Regions from separate parts of the Homo sapiens genome. Here region 2 is linked to region 1. The links are contacts of gene promoters, found by promoter capture Hi-C in blood cells and fetal thymus (Javierre and others, 2016). All regions are on one chromosome and are shown on one strand. Each heading gives the region's core, a stretch centred on a gene start or on the middle of the fragment in contact. The rest is flanking DNA. Distances are from core to core; before and after follow the strand shown. Region 1 holds the start of VAMP4 (vesicle associated membrane protein 4). Region 2 holds the start of GAS5 (growth arrest specific 5).

What was found. Contacts are between HindIII fragments. The CHiCAGO score rates a contact against its expected background, and 5 or more counts as called.
Region 2: the fragment with the promoter of GAS5 here is called in contact with a fragment that was not itself captured in region 1 in 1 of 17 cell types (non-activated CD4 T cells); the score reaches 5.8 in non-activated CD4 T cells.

The regions. Positions count from the first base shown.
Region 1 is chr1:171,741,552-171,747,967 of GRCh38, forward strand. It overlaps VAMP4 (vesicle associated membrane protein 4), which reads right to left and starts at 514. Exons shown (of 8, transcript NM_003762.5): 1 at 359-514. The HindIII fragment of the contact is 2,003 bases long and covers 1,785-3,787 here.
Region 2 is chr1:173,864,309-173,870,724 of GRCh38, forward strand. GAS5 (growth arrest specific 5) reads right to left here and starts at 3,681. Exons shown (of 12, transcript NR_002578.4): 1 at 3,652-3,681; 2 at 2,683-2,735; 3 at 2,453-2,488; 4 at 2,220-2,259; 5 at 1,869-1,898; 6 at 1,549-1,586; 7 at 1,163-1,239; 8 at 921-974; 9 at 367-396; 10 at 176-198. ZBTB37 (zinc finger and BTB domain containing 37) reads left to right here and starts at 4,072. Exons shown (of 5, transcript NM_001122770.3): 1 at 4,072-4,097; 2 at 4,617-4,812; 3 at 5,892-6,416. The coding sequence starts at 5,918. SNORD75 (small nucleolar RNA, C/D box 75) reads right to left here and starts at 2,630; the gene lies at 2,571-2,630. SNORD74 (small nucleolar RNA, C/D box 74) reads right to left here and starts at 3,437; the gene lies at 3,366-3,437. It also overlaps SNORD47, SNORD80, SNORD79, SNORD78, SNORD44 and SNORA103, and 2 more genes. RefSeq lists a silencer at 4,107-4,516 and enhancers at 4,151-5,350, 5,865-5,964. The HindIII fragment of the contact is 5,638 bases long and covers 1-5,362 here.

The DNA of each region.
Region 1 (6,416 bases), core at 1,536-4,035:
GCTCCTAACGCTGGCCCTTCCTGCCCCATTGTACCCCCTGGAATTCCTCACTACATCCCACTCTTAACAAACCTTCCCCATCCATGGTACTGTTCTCTTCCCATCACCCCAGAGTACCCCTCAATTCCAATTCTTCTCTCCCTCAACTGCTCCTCGTCCGCATACCCCTGTCCTCGTCTTCCTTCCTCACGGCACCCCCGGCCCCAACCTTTTCCCACTCCGGGGTCCCTTCCTAGATCCCCGAGGCCCGCCGACCAGCCCGACTAGGACGTCGGGGGGCGGCAAGGCAGGGGCGTCTTCTTCGTTTCCTTCCTCCTCACACCAGCCCCTCCCGCTGCGAACAGGCCAGCGCCAGTACCTGAGGCTCCCGGGGAACTCCCGGCAGCTCTCCCGGGCTGGCGGTGCTGGGCGGGCGGGGGAAGGAGTAGGAAGCCGAGGTAAGAAGCTGGGAGGGGGAGACAGTTGGTGCGGACCCGGCGTCGGCCGCAGCGCCGCAGCAGCGCCTCCGCTCATCGAGCCGATCGGCGCTCGGCGGCCTGGCGCCAGGCGGAGGGGGCGGGTCCAGGGCACGGAGATAATCGAGGAAGTCGATCCGCCGAGCCCTATTCACCTAAAAGAGCCCGAACCCACACGCAGTTTAGATGCATCTCTCCAAATTTATGCTGTGCTTTAGGGGAGGAACAACCACTGGTTGTCCACGTTCCGGTCGTGATCCGGCGTGCGTGGAGGGCGATTAGGGGAGGAGTGGGAAACTTCCGAGAACCGCTCGGGACTGGGCGCCGCGCCGGAGTGCGTGGCTGGGGTGATGAGGCGTTAGAAAGAAGGTGGTGCTTGGTGGCACATCCGTCCCTCTGGCTGACTACGTTGAGTGGCAAGTGGAGAGTGGCTCGCAGCTCGAGGACCTGCTTCGGGTTCGTCTGGGGCCTTTTCTGAAGAAAGGAGATCTGTTTGATCCCCTGTTTACAGAATTAGAGCTAGACTTGGAAAGAGATGTTAAGGCCAGGCTCCTCCCTTTAGATAGGAGGAATATCTGGTTCAGAGAGGAGATTGACTTAAAGTTAACACGGCTAGTTTAGATAGATACGGGACGAGGGCTCGGTGTTCTTTTCCCGGTATCCCTTAGTTGTAACCTGAAAGCCTTCAGGAAATCGCCCTCGCCAGGCCATTCCGCCACTCTGCCCATTCCTTCCTCACTCCCTCCCCCTCCGCCCAATTTGGTATCATGTTTAGATCTCCACGCCCGCAGTAGCTGTCTACCAGAAACAATTCCTAATTTTGTTTTTCCGTTCTCTTATTTGTTTTATTATCCGTTCCTCCCACGCCCCAGCTGGATTATTTTACTCATTGAATCATATTCACTACACATCTTTTAAAATTAATACAGTATCTATGGGTCCTTTGTTGATACAGTATTTTAACTGTCTGAAATACTGTGCCAGGCACTTTCTAAAGACATAAAAATAAGAGGGGGTGTTCAAGAACAAGAGTAGACAAGAAAACAGCAGGAGGAAAGATCTGCGGACACTAAAGGAAAGGAAAGAATAGACACCCTCTTACCAAAAAGTTGTTCTTCTTTTGTTTGATGTTTATTTTTATGTAAAAATGTACTAACGAATTTGAAAGATGCCATGACTAAGGCAACGATGCTCCACTCTGATTCACTTGGAGTTGAATCACTTGGAAAGCTTTTAAAACTACGTAGGTGCCCACGTGCTACCTAGATTCTGATTTAAATGTTCTGAGATTTAGAAACAGCCGTTGAGTTGTCAGTTGAAGGTTCTGAAAGCTTAATGCTAAACTCAGTTGCCTGTGTTTATTCAGTCCAAGTTGCTGTCCAAGTCAGCAACTTGGACTGAAACGGCCCACTTAGAAGAGAAGCCTCTCATGGTTTGTATCCCTGTCTAGGTGTGATAGTGGGTCTACCCCCAGACTCCACAGGTAACCCTGACATTATTTTTTCTTCTACAGCTGATCTTTTTTTTTTTTTTGAGATGAAGTCTCACTTCTTCCCCCAGGCTGGAGTGCAGTGACACAATCATAGCGCACAGCAGCTCTGAACTCCTGAGCTAAAGTGATCTTCCTGCCTCTGCCTCCCAAGTAGCTGGGATTACAGGCATGAGCAGCTGTGCCCAGCACTTACAGTTGATTTTATGTCTGTATATTTGCATGTTATGGGCTATTTTCTGGCTTTGGTGCCTTAGCCAATTAGAGTTTAGCTAGTTATAGCCTCATCTCTTAGACAACTTAAGGTGTGGTCAGTGAGCTCTAACAGGCACGTCATTGCATAGCTTTTACAGATAATCCATTCTTTGGGTTTTTTTGTTTTTTAAACATAATTCTTTAGTCCTGCCAGTCATTTTGGAATGATCGCTTAGGAGAGGGGTAATGCAAGCCCCACCCTTAATCACCTGAACAAAGTCCCTTTGACTAACCCCAATATTTGTGAAACTTAGAAAATGTCATTTTACAGTTAACATGAATCAAATATACCAGTAAGCCTAAAAGATTATAATAGCACTGAGCTTAGAGTCAGAACTCCAAGCAACTTGAGTTACTTATTTCCTCCATTTTCTTTTTAGTGAGCTTCAGTTATTCAGATGTTAGTCCTCTAATTTTCTTTTCCCCTTTTTCAACATGACACCTTCATCCTTAAGAGGGCCTGCTGTCCTCCTAGCTAGAGAATCAGCGTTTTGCTGTCTTTCAGGACTAAATCTCTGGGTTTTTGATGGGATAGCAAAGGGAATCTCAGCATCTGATTCATTCTTAAACAGACTTTATACCATTCCGCCTGTATTTATAGCTCACATCATGCTCTCTTCAGCTTTACGTGGTGTTTCCAATTCCTGAGCCTTATACAGGGTTTCACTGTGTGTATCAGGTTGCTTCATGGCCTGCTTGGGATTCCTACTTTTCAAGTCTGCTAAGGCAATTGCATCTTGATTCATCTCCCTTCTAGCTTTCAATATTTTGTTGCTAAATGTTCAACATTACTTAAAATGTAAAAGTGAACAAGGAAATACCATTTTTCATCTATCAGTGACTGAGAAAGAAGGAGTTGAGCAGAAGATCTGCAATCCAGTCTCTCCCTTCGTAGGGAAATACTCTCAGGAAAGCAAGGTTAAAGCAAGCAAAAAAGCATGTGATTTTTATAAAATATAAAGTATATACTAATTACAGACCTCCTGGCAAACAAACTAATGGCATTTGCTAGCAAGAGAGTCCATATTTACGGAATTCCTCTAACAGGATGTCCCAGGGCTGGGATTGTTTATGGTAAACACATTAAGAATCGATGTGGTAATTCCAGCACTTTGGGAGGCTGAGGCAGGTGGATCACTTGAGGTCAGGAGTTACCAGCCTGGCCAACATGGCAAAACCCCGTCTCTACCAAAACTACAAAAATTAGCTGAGTGTGGTGGTGTACACTTGTAACACCAGCTACTCAGGAGGCTGAGGCAGAAGAATAGCTTGCACTGGAGATGCGGAGGTTGCAGTGAGCAGAGATCGCGCCACCGCCCTCCATCCTGGTCAACAGAATGAGACTCCCTCTCACAAAACAAAAAAGAATCAATGCGGATTTCAGGGGTATGATTAACTGGAAAATACCGCGGAAGTTATGTAACGTAGCATAAAATGGAAGTGTTTTGTAACTGATTTGGCTCCTTCTGTGTAAGTGGGGTGACTGTACACTTGATTTAGAAACCACATCTACTGTCCTGGGCCAGGATGCATCCAAAGCAAGAAGAAAGGACCTGGGGATTACTGGTATCCTTGAAACTATTAGTAAAGCTTGATACTGAGTAAAATCTCTGATTTGAGCCTGATTTGACAGTTTGATCTTTTGTGTTAGCTCAATAGCAAAAATAAAAAAAATTTGATACTACAATATTGGGTGTGTGTATGTGTGGTATGGGAGCAGCGTGGGAGGAACAAGCATTCTTAAACAGTAAGAGTATAAAAATTGGTGCATTTTTAAAAATTTCATGGTAATTATATGTATCAAAATTTTATATGAAGTTCTTTTTGATCTAATAATTTTACTTCTAAAATTTATCCCATGGGTATACAGGTTGTATATAAAAGTATTCTATAAAAATATCTGTTACAGGATTTTTGTAACAGAGTGAAAAAAAAAACTCTAAATGTTCAGCAATAGGAAATTGCTGAAATGAGTCATAGTCTAGCCATTCAATAGAATAGTATGCAGCCATTAAAATGAACTAGATAGATCTATATGTGCTGACATGGAATACCTCTATGATGCTATAAGGTGAGAAAAGTAAGGTGCAAAATAGTGTGTAGACTCTACTTCCATTTGAGCATCACACACACACACACACACACACACACACACACACCAGGAGGACTGTGAATCTGGCATGGAAAGTGTTATGGACTGAATTATGTCCCCTCAAAATTCATATGTTGAAGTCTTAACTTCCAGTGTGACTAGATTTGGAGATAGGGCCTTTAGGACAATAATTAAGGTTAAATGAAATCAAAAAGGCAAAACCCTAATCCTGTAGGGCTAGTGTCTGAGTGCATGGGCACAGAGAAGAGGCCATATGAGAACACAGAAGATGGCCATTTGCAGTCCAGAAAGAGAGGCCACACCATAAGCCAACCCTGATGACTCCTTGATCCTGGACTTTTAGCCTCTAGGACTGTGAGAAAATAAATTTCTGTAGTTAAGCCACCTAGTCCATGGTATTTCATTATAGCAGCCCTAGAAGACTAATACAGAAGGGAAACTTTCTTGATGTGTAGTGTTTTGTACTATTGGAATATCTTTACCATGTATATCAGTTTTTCAATTAAAACAATGGTAGAGGCACTCTCTTCCCCTAAAATTGGGACCACTGGACCAGTTAATTTAAAAAGTCAGTTACAGTGGTACATATTTAAAAATGGCAAATATATACTTTAGTCATTTTATTTTGACTCAAATGTATATGTTCACTCACCAGTCTTGGTAGTAGGCCCAAGACCTTTTATCTGAGCATGAATTTGCTGGTTGGAACACCTGCTTTGTCTTTGTTACAAGTTGCATTGTTTACAGTTTACAGTTTCATTTTCTTCAAAGTGGAATAAGAAGTTAAAGACACCTTTCAAGCAATTTGAATGCCCAGTCAGTCTAGATTTTTGTACAATTTTTTCTCCAAAGTTTTACAGGTTTGTCTTACCTGTGCCTAGTTCTATAGTAATTTTTGTTTGTTGTTCATGTTTATCAATTTAGTTTTTATAGAAAATAACTTTCTATTTGTATTTCATTAGTTTACATATTTAAATATATTCTATAAGTATAATAGGCATAAATACTTTGGAGTACAAATGCAAATTGACTCTTGTAAGCATGTAACTCAATTAGTTTGGAGAAGAAGTATACAGATATCATGTAGTTAACCATAAGCTTTTCATGCTTAGAGTGCCTTGGTGTTATATAAATATGATATTAGTTTATTTTAGTTTTGATTTTGAATGCTTTTAAATCCTCTATCCAGATTCATTAATAACGCTTTTCTAATGCTGACCTCAACTCCTAAATGGATTTCATGACAGTGTGAATAAAAACAAAATAGTTCAGCCCTCTTTTTGTCTCCAGGTAGATGAAGAAACAGAGTGCCAGAGAGTTTACGTGGTTTGTTAACATTTCACTAAGTTTGCTTTATTACTTCTCTTTAAATTTATATCTCCCCTCGGCATGCATTATTTGAAAATTAGTTATAGCTATCATGCCTCTTTACCCCTAAATACTTCATTAGATATCTCCTAAGAACAAGAACATTGTCTTCATAACTGTAATTCAGTTGTCAAATTCAGAAAATTTAACATTGATACAATATTATTTTCTATCAAAGCATCCATATCAAAGTTTGCCAGCCGTCTCAGTTATGTCCTTTGCAATGTGAGTATAGTCTACAGAGAAAATAGTAATGAGTAACAAAGCAAGAGGAATTTAGTTTTTAAAGATAAGTTCAACTATAGTTTAATTATTTTTAATATATATAATAATATGGGAAATGCCCTGATGCCTTCCTCATGAAACTTTAGATGTGACATTATAAGATGGTCTCAGGGAGGTGCTTTGTTTCTCTTCTAACTGTTCTTGTTTATTGAGGTAGTGACATGTTGCAAGAATTTTATCTTGGAGAAATTACCTCCCACAAAGATGGCAACATTAGAAGAACCTGCATAATAATATGCTCTAATTGTGTTACAAATTTATTTTACTACTCTGAAAGTTAAAAATGGTTACCATTTATTTTCTTGGTTTCATGCCTGTTTTCTTAAGAACTATGCTTAATGATTAGCATATGTTTCTGCACAAATCCTCTCTGATATCAAGTGTCATTTTCCTCATTTTATCATTTAGACCTCAAGGTTCTGAGATGACGTGTGATTTGTCCAAGGTTAGA
Region 2 (6,416 bases), core at 2,431-4,930, 2.1 Mb after region 1:
AAGCGAAGCCAACATATTAATCAGGGCAAAATACAAATGTGTGATGCTTGTTAGTAGAGTAACCTCAGAATCAAAATGGAACGGTTTTACAGTGATATCATTATATTTCATTTGGCAGAATCATTACATCATTGGTTACACTGAAAATCATCACATGTACCAAAAGCTGACTCACCTAGTTTAGGATAACAGGTCTGCCTGTTTGAAGATGAAAAATAATACCCATTTAAAATTTGCCCTACTCAATTTCCTTCTCAGTCACATTTTAACTTTTAAACAGCTAATCACTCCCATCTACAGATTAAGGTGTATATGCCACCAAAACCTTTTGCCACCTTAAAAATTTCCTTCAAAGTTTAAACTAACCTGCATTTCTTCAATCATGAATTCTGAGTCCTGAAATTAAGGGACAATACACAGTAAGACAACTTGCATACAATTAGGAGTAATCCAAAATCTCCAAACATTATAGAATGGCTATATTCCCCTTTTCGGGGCATAAACTAGAATGTTACCGCCAGATACATCAGATAGGAGCGAAAGACTTAATATTGCTCATCAGCGTTAGTCTGCTGAACTATGTTATCATCATTGTATCGGCTTTACAACACTTAAAAACCAGACTTGAGGCGGGGCATGGTGGCTCACGCCTGTAATCCCAGCACTTTGGGAGGTCAGTGCGGGCAGTATCACTTGAGGTCAAGAGTTCGAGACCAGCCTGGACAACATAGCTGTACAAAATTAGCCAGGCATGGTGTCACATGCCTGTAATCCCAGCTACTCAAGAGGCTGAGGCAGGAGAATTCCTTGAACCTGGGAGGCAGAGGTTGCAGTGAACTGATAGTGCCGCTGCACTCCATTCTGGGCAAGAGCTAGACTCTTGTCTAAAAAAAAAAAAAAAATACTTGGAACTGCTATACCTTTGCTTCTTTAAAACTTGCTCCACACAGTGTAGTCAAGCCGACTCTCCATACCTGTAGAAATTTAATCTCCTTTACCAATAGGTAGTAATAGGTGGATTTCTAAAAGATTTCCCAACTACTGTTTCAGTTTAAGATTAATCTCCATTTTCTTTCTCAGAGAGATTCCCATCTGCTTTAATTTTAAAATCATCACTAACAGTAGCTCAATCAATTAACGTTAACATCAATAAAACATGTACCTTTAAAAGGTATGACAGGAACTGTCTTCATGTCCTTACCCAAGCAAGTCATCCATGGATAAAAACGTTACCAGGAGCTGGAATACAAATGAGGACTTCCATTAAAATGCTAAACATCATTAAACTCTTTTCAAAGTTGTCTGTCACAGGGTTCTTCAGTGTTACCTTTGTCTACATGCTCATTTCAGGTCAGACATTTGATCAACATCATTACACAAACCCCGTTCCAAACATGCTCAAGGAAAACACATAAACACTGTTCCAGACATGCTCAAGGAAAATACAGTCAGTATTCATCAGCCAAGCCTTAAGCCATTAGCTCAGCAGTAAGCATATCACCATCAGCATTTTCATTAAGTCTATCTACTGTTTTCATTAATACTTACCAGAACCATTAAGCTGGTCCAGGCAAGTTGGACTCCACCTAAGAAATAAGAGTGGTCTTAGAATAGCCACAGATGAGTGTTCACCCCCTGCCAAAACTAACAAATGCCTTTAGTCAGTTAGAGCTAATTAAGACCTTCATGTTCAGTCAGCATTTGCTTATCATCATCCAGGCTGCATTTACAAACTTTCTTATTAATCATAACAAGACAAGAATCCGCCATTTATTTAATGCATTCAGCACTAGGAGGTAACTAAAAAGCCATTTGTGCCGTAGGAAGTTTGCCCAGTTACCTGCTTACTTGGATACAGTTTCACTTACCATTTCAACTTCCAGCTTTCTGTCTAATGCCTGTAATTTTAATACAAAATTGTCAGCAAAAAATATTTTAATGGTAGATTGGTGGTACACTGCTTAACCATTAACAGCAAACCACAACTACCCCAGATACATCAGACAGATAGTACATCTCTTCATGATTAAATCTGCTGAACTATGCAACCATCATAGTATCTGTTTTCACATTTTCTTCAGTATTAAACTTAGTATCAATATGAGAGCAAAATTCTCATTTGAAAAGAGGGGAGAGAAGCACTAACATAGATAATCATCATTGCTTTGGCTATTTTCTAATCCCTTAAAAGTGAGAAGTACAAAATAGAGGTGTCTCACCTGTGTGCCAATGGCTTGAGTTAGGCTTGCTCTTTAGGACCTGGGAAGAAACAACTTCATGTGAACTTAGGTGTACTCTCTATGTTCCCCAACTCACCATTTTGGGTGCCTCAGTTAAGATAATGGTGGTTAAGATCCTCATCATTCTAGCACTCAAGAGTAGCAAATAAACTGTCATCATTGTGGCACATCCAATGGCTTTAAACCTTTTTGAGAGGGAATTTTCAACTTACTTCAGTAGCTATTCTCATCCTTCCTTGGGGACACAACTAGAAAACAAAAAGATGCAAGCAAAACAGTGAGAATGAACCTCACAGCAGTCACGTTAAATATAAATGCTGTTAACATTAAAGCCTCAGAATAGAATTTCAGAAATCCCTTCTGTCCACTACTCTTAAAGCATCACAGGCTGAGACCACCTCTTAGATTTCATTCTTCCCACCATACTTTCCCCAATTCTTACCTGTCCATAAGGTGCTATCCAGAGCCACACTGCATCTGCACCCAGCACCATACCTAAAGAGATCAGGTACAGATTTTAATTCATTGTTCCACGGTTCTTTTTTTTAAAGAGTGTTCTTTAAAAAAACGGTTCGTCTTTTTAAACCAATGATGCAGGTAACATACCATTCATTATCTAGCGACAGGTAAAGGATACACTTAATGTTACAAAGAAGCACTGCACCCGCAGTTAAGAACCACCGATGGCGGCCGGGCGCGGTGGCTCACGGCTTGTAATCCCAGTATGTTGGGGGACCACGGCTGGTGGATCACCTGAGGTCAGGAGTTCAAGACCAGTCTCGCCAACATGGTGAAACCCCGTCTCTACTAAAAATATAAAAGCCTAGCATGGTGGCGCGCGCCTGTAGTCCCAGTTACTTGGGAGGCTGAGGCAGAACTGCTTAACTCGGGACGCGGAGGTTGCCATTAACCGATGTCGAGCCACTGCATTCCAGCCTGGGTGACAGAACGAGGCTCGGTCTCAAAAAAGAAAAAAGAAACACTAATGGAAATATTGGTGACACTGCGGAATGCAGGCACTTAAGCACGTGGACTACCACCGACAGCCTTTCATGAGAGCGGACGGCTGATGGAGGCTCGGGTCACGGCCCTTAACAATAGCTTACTCGGGTGACTCGGCATGTGCCACCATCAGAGCGGTTGGCATTCATCATTACTCTCAGATGTCCCTACCAACACAGGCTTCATCAGAGGCAGGGCACGAGAGCCGAGGCTTCTCCGCAGTTCTACTCTAACATAGTCGCAGCTTAGGTCACGCATGCACCATATGTGCAATCCCCCACCATCCTCAACTTGTAGGCCCTGCAAAGGCGCGCGACTGGCTTAGAAGTCCCAGTCAATTCAGGGTGACCTTAGCAGACAAAGGCTGGAGCGCCCCAAAACCCGCAACATTCGCAAAGATAAAACATACCTCACAGGAGTCGACTCCTACCTCGAAAAGACAGTATGGTGCCTGGGCTCCTGTATATAAGAGTTCTTTTGATGACGTCACGACGCACGCTCCCGGCAGCGTCCGCTTCGGCTCCTCCCCCTAACCTCCCTCAATCTTCCTCTCATCCAGTATCACCTTCTTCCCACCCCTTAAGTCCGCCCCTTTTCCCCGCCCTTCCTCGCCATTGTGGGCAGAGACATGACCGTCCACGTGATGCCGTGCTCCCGCCCTCCTCCCGACTGAGGAGGAAGAGCAGAGAGGGGAGGGGGCGCGAGGCAAGGAAAGCTCTGGGGATGGGGGAAGGGGGGGCGGTGTAAGGCTGAGTGATTTCCTTCCGGCACGTCGCCCGCTCCGTGGGAGGGGGTGGGGGATTTCACTTCCGGGACGGTGTTCCGGCCCATTCCGGCCCATTTCCACCCCCGGAGGTAGGTGCTGCTCCTTGACTGGACTCGGGCCCCACACCCCAGTGCCACTTCCCTGCACCGGGGTCACCTCGCCCGCCCTCCGCCGCAGCGCGCTCCTGGGGCGCTCAGCTACTTTCCTTCACCCCGCCTCCAGGCACCGGGCGACCTTCCACCCCCTTGGCCCCCGGCCGGGCTGATCTGCCGGACCCGCCCCCTCGCGGGGCCCCTCCCTCAGGACCCCGGGAAGGGCGGCCCCCTCCCCCACCGCAGCCGGGACACACCCAGATACGCACACCCACCTCCTGGCAGCTCCCCGCCCGCCGCCGCCTGGAGCCGGTCCCTGGGCGCCGCCCCCTTCCTAGTTCTCACCTGAGCGCTGGCTCCCCCGCCCGACGCCTTGTCCCCATCTTCTCCGAAGTTCCTCAGTGACATTTTGCCCTTTAGCCAGTTCCCCTCTCCCCAGGCTTCCTAACGCAGAAGAAAGCTGCTCAAGTGCTGGAGTGGCCAACCCCATGCCGTTCCCAATTCTCCCTTTTACAGCTCTCACCCCTCCAGTGCCGACGGTAGCGAAAGACTTTCCTCCAGGGGCTTCCTCACTGGGGAATTGCCGGAAAGAGCAAACAAAAAAGGCGCTGGTGTAGGCTCCAAAATAAACACATCTGAATTCATGATGGCATCGACAGAGGCTCTTATTGGATTAAAAGTTTCAAAACAAACAATAACGCTTTGGAAAAAGGTCAGATTGGCTAAAGTTGATTGTTGAAAACAGTGTATACACTTCCCTATTTAATAAGTGTGTTGTTAATGCGGGGCAGTACTGTGAGCTTGGCAGAGTAAGTTCCTGAAGTTTCAGGTGTGGTGTAACTATGTAATATATAGATAAGTGAACGCACATTGGGCTTAAGTAAATGTCTTCCTGTTCGGATTTATACAAACTATTTTCAGTAGTTGAAACTGTACTTTCAACTATCTTGTATACAGCTTCAGGTTTAGTGTTTCAGCCATTTTTTAAAAATATTTTAATGGAAAAATGTTGGCATACTTGGTAAATGCTGTATTTTTTCATCGGATCTGGAGAACTAAGTTTCAGGATGGAAGTATTCATCACCACCTCGGAATTGCCAACTTCGAATTTGGCAGATTTACCCAGCTTTCCTAATTTTGACAACTGAACTTCACATTCTCTGCATCTTGGTTGAATCCTGGCACAGCTGTGGGATTTTTCCTAGAGTTTGCTTCACAGCCCTATAACCAAAGTCTTTTTGTGGGGGGGGCTCTGATTCTTAAGCTTAGAAATATTAGCCTACATTCATGTGGGATATTAGTCCTTTTATAAAATAATAAACATAATTCTTGCAGCAGGTAGTAAAATACTAAGAAGAGGGATATCAAGCTATGTAGAATTGCATTTATTCAGAAAGCTTTCCTCCTCCAGAGAAAAGTTGTAAAGTTATGAGATGTTATATTCAGTCTGCAAGTACCTTATAGTTAACACTTAAAAGTCCTTCCCCCTACCTTCTGTTGAACTTCTGTTTTGATGTTATATAACTTATTAGTAAGGAAAGCATGGTCATAACATGAATTTTTAGGAGTCTAAAGATCACTTTTTAGTTTTAACTATGTCCTCCTGTGAAACTTAAACTGAAAAACCTGTTGGTGATTCTGTTTCCACATCTAAATATAAGGAAGGTATTTCTTTTATCTGGAGATTTTGAAACTTTACCAGATAACTATGTTTAAATACTTTTGAAATGGAAACCATCCGGGAAGTAAAATTATAATTATTAATGAGAATATGGTTTCTTTTTTCAGCAGGGTTGAATGCACCCTCAGGCACGACCATGGAGAAAGGTGGGAACATACAATTGGAGATTCCTGACTTCAGCAACTCTGTCCTGAGCCATCTAAACCAGTTGCGCATGCAGGGCCGTCTCTGTGATATTGTGGTCAATGTGCAAGGACAAGCTTTTCGGGCTCACAAAGTGGTGCTGGCTGCCAGCTCCCCCTATTTCCGGGATCACATGTCCTTGAATGAGATGAGTACAGTCTCCATTTCAGTCATCAAGAACCCTACTGTTTTTGAACAGCTCCTTTCTTTCTGTTACACAGGGCGGATATGCCTGCAACTGGCAGATATCATCAGCTACCTAACAGCTGCCAGTTTTCTGCAAATGCAGCATATTATAGACAAATGTACACAGATCCTGGAGGGCATTCATTTCAAAATTAATGTGGCTGAGGTTGAAGCAGAATTAAGTCAAACAAGGACAAAGCATCAAGAGAGACCTCCAGAGTCTCACAGGGTTACACCAAATCTCAACCGCTCCCTTAGCCCACGAC